3 separate regions of the Homo sapiens genome follow, and regions 1 and 2 are each linked to region 3. The links are contacts of gene promoters, found by promoter capture Hi-C in human tissues and cell types (Jung and others, 2019). All regions are on one chromosome and are shown on one strand. Each heading gives the region's core, a stretch centred on a gene start or on the middle of the fragment in contact. The rest is flanking DNA. Distances are from core to core; before and after follow the strand shown. Region 1 has its middle 4.0 kb from the start of S1PR4. Region 2 overlaps GNA15 (G protein subunit alpha 15). Region 3 holds the start of ZNF554 (zinc finger protein 554).

What was found. Contacts are between HindIII fragments. The study calls those that stand out against the background at their distance.
Region 1: a contact is called between a fragment that was not itself captured here and the fragment with the promoter of ZNF554 in region 3, in 2 of the 25 tissues and cell types used here (H1 embryonic stem cells and mesenchymal stem cells).
Region 2: a fragment that was not itself captured here is called in contact with the fragment with the promoter of ZNF554 in region 3 in 2 of the 25 tissues and cell types used here (dorsolateral prefrontal cortex and mesendoderm cells).

What each region holds. Positions count from the first base shown.
Region 1 is chr19:3,173,426-3,176,174 of GRCh38, reverse strand. No RefSeq gene overlaps it. Among named protein-coding and RNA genes, the nearest start is that of S1PR4, 4.0 kb to the left of the region's middle. The HindIII fragment of the contact is 3,498 bases long and covers 1-2,749 here.
Region 2 is chr19:3,155,330-3,158,029 of GRCh38, reverse strand. GNA15 (G protein subunit alpha 15) reads right to left here. Exons shown (of 7, transcript NM_002068.4): 5 at 2,078-2,207; 6 at 149-302. Among named protein-coding and RNA genes, the nearest start is that of GNA15-DT, 1.5 kb to the right of the region's middle. RefSeq lists enhancers at 2,535-2,624, 2,665-2,700, 2,282-2,700. The HindIII fragment of the contact is 4,542 bases long and covers 1-2,700 here.
Region 3 is chr19:2,818,384-2,821,278 of GRCh38, reverse strand. It overlaps ZNF554 (zinc finger protein 554), which reads right to left and starts at 1,411. Exons shown (of 5, transcript NM_001102651.2): 1 at 1,155-1,411. The coding sequence starts at 1,207. RefSeq lists an enhancer at 307-1,000 and a silencer at 933-1,372. The HindIII fragment of the contact is 22,652 bases long and covers 1-2,895 here.

The DNA of each region.
Region 1 (2,749 bases), core at 1-2,500, 360 kb before region 3:
GTTAGCAATAACGTGAACGTGTGAACAATCAAGCAGCTGGCCAATCGTTTCCTCCCCCTGCTTTCTACCCAATAAGTACGAAGGGCTGTAGAAGCTTGGGGGGCTGCCTTTGCTCACTAGAAGCAGGGAGCTCTCTTTTTCTTCCCCTGGTCCCTTCCTTTAAAACAGTTTCTTCTGTCTTAAGTTTTCATTTCTACATTCGTCCCTTCGTTCAGTCTTGTAATGATGGTCTCAAGTAGTAACAATAGTAACTGTCGTAGTGACAGTCTCAGGTAGTAATCATGGCAACCACACACAGGCGTCCCATGAAGGGTACAGGCATCCCATGAGGGCACAGGTGTCCCATGAGAATGCAGGCGTCCCATGAGGGGCACAGGCATCCCATGAGAACACAGGCATCCCATGAGGGGCACAGGCGTCCCATGAGGGTACAGGCATCCCATGAGGGCACAGGTGTCCCATGAGAATGCAGGCGTCCCATGAGGGCACAGGCATCCCATGAGGGGCACAGGCATCCCATGAGAGCACAGATGTCCCATGAGGGGTACAGGCGTCCCATGAGGGTACAGGCATCCCATGAGAACACAGGCGTCCCATGAGGGGTACAGGCATCCCATGAGGGCACAGGCATCCCATGAGAACACAGGTGTCCCATGAGAACACAGGTGTCCCATGAGGGCACAGGCGTCCCATGAGAATGCAGGCGTCCCATGAGAACGCAGGCGTCCCATGAGGGCACAGGCGTCCCATGAGGGCACAGGTGTCCCATGAGGGGCACAGGCGTCCCATGAGAACACAGGCGTCCCATGAGGGGCACAGGCGTCCCATGAGAACACAGGCGTCCCATGAGGGCACAGGCGTCCCGTGAGAACACAGGTGTCCCATGAGGGGCACAGGCGTCCCATGAGAACACAGGCGTCCCATGAGGGCACAGGCGTCCCATGAGAACACAGGTGTCCCATGAGGGGCACAGGCGTCCCATGAGAACACAGGCGTCCCATGAGGGCACAGGCGTCCCATGAGAACACAGGTGTCCCATGAGGGGCACAGGCGTCCCATGAGAACACAGGCGTCCCATGAGGGCACAGGCGTCCCATGAGGGGCACAGGCGTCCCATGAGAACACAGGCGTCCCATGAGGGCACAGGCGTCCCATGAGGGCACAGGTGTCCCATGAGGGGCACAGGCGTCCCATGAGAACACAGGCGTCCCATGAGGGGCACAGGCGTCCCATGAGAACACAGGCGTCCCATGAGGGCACAGGCGTCCCATGAGAACACAGGCGTCCCATGAGGGGCACAGGCGTCCCATGAGAACACAGGCGTCCCATGAGAACACAGGCGTCCCATGAGGGCACAGGCGTCCCATGAGGGCACAGGCGTCCCATGAGAACACAGGCGTCCCATGAGGGCACAGGCGTCCCATGAGGGCACAGGCGTCCCATGAGAACACAGGCGTCCCATGAGGGCACAGGCGTCCCATGAGGGCACAGGCGTCCCATGAGGGCACAGGCGTCCCATGAGAACACAGGCGTCCCATGAGGGGCACAGGCGTCCCATGAGAACACAGGCGTCCCATGAGGGCACAGGCGTCCCATGAGGGGCACAGGCGTCCCATGAGAACACAGGCGTCCCATGAGGGCACAGGCGTCCCATGAGGGCACAGGCGTCCCATGAGAACACAGGCGTCCCATGAGGGCACAGGCGTCCCATGAGAACACAGGCGTCCCATGAGGGCACAGGTGTCCCATGAGAACACAGGCGTCCCATGAGAACACAGGTGTCCCATGAGGGCACAGGTGTCCCATGAGAATTCAGGCGTCCCATGCGGGGCACGGGCATCCCATGAGAACACAGGCATCCCATGAGGGGCACAGGCGTCCCATGAGGGTACAGGCATCCCATGAGAACACAGGCGTCCCATGAGGGCACAGGCATCCCATGAGGGGCACAGGCATCCCATGAGGGCACAGATGTCCCATGAGGGGTACAGGCGTCCCATGAGGGTACAGGCATCCCATGAGAACACAGGCGTCCCATGAGGGGTACAGGCATCCCATGAGGGCACAGGCATCCCATGAGAACACAGGTGTCCCATGAGAACACAGGTGTCCCATGAGGGCACAGGCGTCCCATGAGAATGCAGGCGTCCCATGAGAACACAGGTGTCCCATGAGGGCACAGGCGTCCCATGAGGGCACAGGCGTCCCATGAGAACACAGGTGTCCCATGAGAGGCACAGGCGTCCCATGAGAACACAGGCGTCCCATGAGGGCACAGGCGTCCCATGAGAACACAGGTGTCCCATGAGGGGCACAGGCGTCCCATGAGAACACAGGCGTCCCATGAGGGCACAGGCGTCCCATGAGAACACAGGCGTCCCATGAGGGGCACAGGCGTCCCATGAGAACACAGGCGTCCCATGAGGGCACAGGAGTCCCATGAGAACACAGGCGTCCCATGAGGGGCACAGGCGTCCCATGAGAACACAGGCGTCCCATGAGGGCACAGGCGTCCCATGAGGGCACAGGCGTCCCATGAGGGGCACAGGCGTCCCATGAGAACACAGGCGTCCCATGAGGGCACAGGCGTCCCATGAGGGCACAGGCGTCCCATGAGGGGCACAGGCGTCCCATGAGAACACAGGCGTCCCATGAGGGCACAGGCATCCCATGAGGGCACAGGCATCCCATGAGGGCACAGGCGTCCCATGAGAACACAGGCGTCCCATGAGGGCACAGGCGTCCCATG
Region 2 (2,700 bases), core at 192-2,691, 340 kb before region 3:
GGCAGTGGATGGAGCTGAGTCTAGAACGCGGGTCTGATCCTATGTGAAAGTTCCGGTGACTCCAGGCTGAAGTAGAGTCTGGATTAGCATCTCTCTTCGGAGCTGCTTTTGGGAGTTGAAGGGTATAGAAAGTTCTAGAATTACTTACCCTGGAAACTGGGGAAATAGGTAGCCAGGTGGGAGGTGGGGATTTTCTCCTCCAGGATGTCGGTTTTGTTGAGAAAGAGGATGACGGATGTGCTTTTGAACCAGGGTAGTTCCAGGATAGTCCCAAACAATGCGAGGCTCTCCTTCATGCGGTTCTGTGTTGGGGGCAGAAGCAGGTTAGTGCTTCAACCAGCCAGGTGGGACAGGAAACCCTCCCATCGCGGAGACGGGGCTGTTGGCTCCAGGGGCATGGGCTCACCCCTATCTGCCTGGCTGGGGCTGAGGCGGGTGTGCCCGTGTTTCCATATGGACAGCTGCCTGGGTGTGCCTGACATGGTTTTGTGCCTGTGCTGGTTGGAAGTGTGTCCTCCCGAAATTCATGTCCCCCCAGAGCTTCAGAGTGTGACCTTATCTGGAGAGAGATTCTTGAACTCCTGGCCTCCCAGCGTGCTGGGGTTATAGGCATGAACCACTGCACCTGGCCTGGAGATAGGGTCTTTGAAGAGGTCGTTAAGGTGAGGCAATACTAGAATACGGTGGCCCTCAAGTCCGTGACTGCTGTCCTCATAAGAAGAGGGAGACCTGGCCGGGCGCGGCAGCTCACGGCTGTAATCCTAGCACTTTGGGAGGCCAAGGCGGGCAGATCACCTGAGGCCAGGAGTTGGAGACCAGCCTGGCTAACATGGTGAAACCCCGTTTCTACTAAAAATACAAAAAATTAGCCGGGCATGATGGCAGGTGCCTGTAAACCCAGCTACTCGGGAGGCTGAGGCAGGAAAATCGCTTGAACCCGGGAGGCGGAGGTTGCAGTGAGCTGAGATCGCGCCACTGCACTCTAACCTGGGCGACAAAAGCGAGACTCCATCTCAAAAAAAAAAGTACAATAAGGTCTCAAATGCCTTGTGTTATGGGGTACATCATATTTCCCCAAAATTCATACGTTCAAGACCTAACCCCCTAGAACCTCAGTTTGTGACCTTCTTTGGAAACAGGGCCATCACACGAGGAATTAACCCAGATGAGGTCGTACTGGAGTAGGGTGGGCCCTGATCCTAGACGACTGGTGTACTTATTAAAAGAGGCTATTGGCTGGGCACAGTGGCTCACGCCTGTAATCCCAGCACTTTGGGAGGCCGAGGCGGGCGGATCACGAGGTCAGGAGATTGAGACCATCCTGGCTAACATGGTGAAACCCCCTCTCTTCTAAGAATACAAAAAAAAAATTAGCCGAGCGTGGTGGCGGGTGCCTGTAATCCCACCTACTCCGGAGGCTGAGGCAGGAGAATGGTGTGAACCCGGGAGGCGGAGTTTCCAGTGAGCCGAGATCGCGCCACTGCACTCCAGCCTGTGCGTGTGCGTGCATGTGTGTGTGCACGCATGTGTGTGCCTGTGTGCCTGTGTGTGCGTGTGTGTGCCTGTGTGTGCGTGTGCATGTGTGTACTGTGTGTGTGCATGTGTGTGTTCATGTGTGTGCGCATGTGTACATATGCGTGTATTGTGCACGTGAGTGCATGCAAGTGTGCATGTGTGTGGTGCATGTGTGTTCGTGTGCATGTGTTGTGCATGTGCACTGCGTGTGTACATGTGTCCCGTGTGTGCACGTGTGTATGTGCATGTATTATGCACGTGTCTGTGCGTGTTTGTGTGCATGCATTGTGTATGTGCGTGTGTGCACTGTAGTGTGTGTGTGTGTGTGTGTGTGTGTGTGTGTGTGTGTGTCTGGGGTCCTGACCAAACAAATGCTGTAGGTCTGTGTCTTGGGTTGCTGCAATCTGACCACAAAAGGCTGAAGGGTCAAGTTCATAGCCATGCTGGGCACACACAGGCCCGTTCAAGAGCAGGGATCCCTCCCTTTCTGCACCAGAGCTTCCTGCTCAGGTGAGGGTCCCTGGGCCAACAAGTGGGCAGGGCGAGGGAGGCGGTGGCGCACCTCCTGGTTGTTCTCCTCCAGGCACTGGTCGTATTCACTCAGTGAGGCCAGGTAGATGAGGGCGATCACGTTCTCGAAACAATGGATCCATTTCTTACGCTCTGACTTCTGGCCCCCGACGTCCACGATCCTACAGGGAACCGAGGTGCCCCCTTTCAGAGCTCAGGAGCCTGCTCCGTGACACCCCCAACCCCCATCACGTCTGGGATATGCCAAGATCCATAATAGCGACAGCAAGAATAGGTGCTAGCCTCTCGTGGATTTGCCATGTCATTCCCGCGAGGCAAGGATGAGTCTTACGCCCATTTTACAGATGAGAAGCCTGAGATCCAGGGAGGAGCGGGGACTTTCCCAAGCTTCTACTGTGCTGGGCTGCCTGCTTTCTACCCCCATATTAGAGGGGAGCAGGTTGGACAGATCTGAGATGTGCCCTGGTGCTGGCTGGGCGACCCGGCGGAGGAAATTGCCAAACATCTCCAAAACTCAGTTTTCCCATCTGTGCTATGGGGCTCCTGTGCTCTGGCTGGCCATGGGCATGTCCAGTGGCCACACAGATGGGAATGAGGGCTGTTCCCAGAGCACACGTCCTCCCCTCCATCTGTGACTCAGCCCCACGCACCGTA
Region 3 (2,895 bases), core at 162-2,661:
TCTGTATCTACTAAAAATATAAAAATTAGCCAGGCGGGGTGGCGTGCACCTGTAATCCCAGCTACTTGGGAGGCTGAGGCAGGAGAATCACTTGAACCCACGAGGTGGATGCAGTGAGCCGAGATCGTGCAACTGCACTCCAGCCTGGGCAATAGGGCGAGACTGTCTCAAGAAAAAAAAAAGAAGAAGAAAAAGAAACCAACCTGTTTGGGTAGGGGAGAGTTCAGGGAGGTTGGGGTTGCTAGAGCAGCAGAAAGGTCAGCTGCCTCCCTCATTCCTCAACATGGGTGGTGGGTATAAACAGAATAGACCCTTGCAGCTGCGCGGTGGCTCACGCCTGTAATCCCAGCACTTTGGGAGGCTGAGGCGGGTGGATCACCTGAGGTGGGAGTTCGAGACCAGCCTGGCCAACATGGTGAAACCCCGTCTCTACTAAAAATGCAAAAATTAGCCGGGCGTGGTGGCATACGCCTGTAATCCCAGCTACTTGGGAGGCTGAGGCAGGACAATGGCTTGAACCCGGGAGGCGGAGGTTGCAGTGAGCCGAGATCATGCCATTGCACTCCAGACTCCGTCTCAAAAAAAAAAAAAAAAGGACCCTTGCTGTCTTATCACCAGGACAGCGGTGCTAACGTATAAGTGAGGTCTCTCCCTCAGGGCGCTGTGGACACTGGAGCCTGGGTCATTCTCTGGGCTGGGCAGGGTGCTGAGTTGCATCCCTGGCCTCCACCTACTCCATGCCAGGAACTGCCCCCAGTTATGACAACCACAGACGTCCCCAGACATCGCCCGGTGTCCCCTGGAGGGCAGGACCGCCCCTCGCTCAGACCCTCTGATGTGGCCTCACTGCAGTGCGAGCGTGGCAGCCCCTCTCTGCCTTTAGGGTAGAGTCAATGCGTCTTCTCCCTCTCCTTGCAGGCTGGGCCTCGGAAAGCTTATGCGTCTCTCACCCAGGGGCGTTTTCACAGGGCAAGGGCAGACCGTGCCATCCTGGGCGTTGGGGCCCTGGGCGAGCTGCCGGCTCCCGACCCTCCCGTGGGGACCCTATCGCGACAGGGTCATGCCCCGGCCACCCGGCCCCGCCAGACCCAGCCCCACCAGAGCCCCGGCAGGCCCGGCACGGAGGTCGCGGCGCGGGAGGCGGCGGCACTTACGGCTGAGCTGCCGGGAGCCGCGCGCGCCGGCCCAGGTGGGCGCAGGTGACCATCGGGGCGCGCGCTGAGGCGCCAGACAGGGCCCCCGAGGCGGGAGCGCCCCGTGCAGGCCGGCCGGCCTCCCCTGCGTGTCCCTGGGACGCCTCCTCCGCTCGGCTCCTCGGCGCTCGGAGCGGACGCCCCCCGCAGGCGCCCCTCAGGAACTCGCCGCAGCCGCCGCCACCAACCCCGACGCGCGCAGAGGTAAACTCGGCACTGCGCCTGCGCACCCCGAACCTGCGAACTACAAGTCCCAGCAGGCCCCGCAGCGCGGCGCTGGGCTCCTGACTCTCCAACCTGGGTCACAGCGCCGCCTCCGGGCGGGCGGCGTCTCCGCAGGACCACGATGCCCCTGCGGCTGTTGGATCCACCCCGTGTGGTTCGCTGGAGTCCCCGGGTGTTGTGGGGTTCGCGGAGCCAATCCTCAAATCCCAGCTCCGTCGTTTCCCGGCGGCTTGCCATTGGATATTAATAACTACTATTATTTATTAAGCAAGTTATATAAACGTATAATGTATTACATACTTATTAAAATGATTGCTTAAGTAATTGTTGTTTGTTTTTGAGACTGAGTTTCGCTCTTGTCGCCCAGGCTGGAGTGCAATGGCATGATCTCAGGTCACTGAAACCTCCGCCCCCTCGGGTTCAAGCGATTATCCTGCCTCAGTCTCCCAAGTAGCTGGGATTACGGGCGTGCACAACCACACTCGGCTAATTTTTTATATTTTTGGTAGCGACGCGGTTTCACCATGTTGGCCAGGCTGGTCTCGAACTCCTGACTTCCAGTGATCTGCCCGCCTTGGCCTCCCAAAGTGCTGGGATTACAGGCGTGAGCCACCACGCCCAGCCAAATTAAATTATTGTTTAAATATTTATTTAATATTCTACTGATTGTTATTTATGAGAAATTAAAATAGTAAAACTACTATAATTAATATACTGTTGTAGGATACAACAAATTCCTCTTCAAAGGTTTTAGCCTGTAAATTGTTAAGTACAATCAGTTATGAGCTCCTCTCCAAAGAACCAATGTTTCCGTATATTCAGCTCCCCTGTTCTTTTTTTTTTTTTTTTTGAGATGGAGTCTCGCTCTGTCGCCCAGGCTGGAGTGCAGCGGCGCGATCTCGGCTCACTGCAAGCTCCGCCTCCCAGGTTCACGCCATTCTCCTGCCTCAGCCTCCCAAGCAGCTGGGACCACAGGCGCCCGCCACCACGCCCGGCTAATTTTTTTGTATTTTTAGTAGAGACGGAGTTTCACCGTGTTAGCCAGGATGGTCTCGATCTCCTGACCTCGTGATCCGCCTGCCTCAGCCTCCCAAAGTGCTGGGATTACAGGCGTGAGCCACCGCGCCCGGCCACCTATTCTTTGTTCTTCATTTTAAACTTTAACTTCCTCGTTCTTTTCGTTTCCTTGCCCCTAGTTTCAGTAAACAACCCCTCCTAGCCCCTATCACCTGCTCTGACCTTAGTCACCCTTGGTCACCTGCTCTGACCTTAGTCATCCTTGGTCACCTGCTCTGACCTTAGTCATCCTTGTCACCTGCTCTGACCTTAGTCATCCTTGGTCACCTGCTCTGACCTTAGTCATCCTTGGTCACCTGCTCTGACCTTAGTCATCCTTGTCACCTGCTCTGACCTTAGTTATCCTTGGTCACCTGCTCTGTTCTTAGTCACCCTTGTCACCTGCTCTGACCTTAGTTAT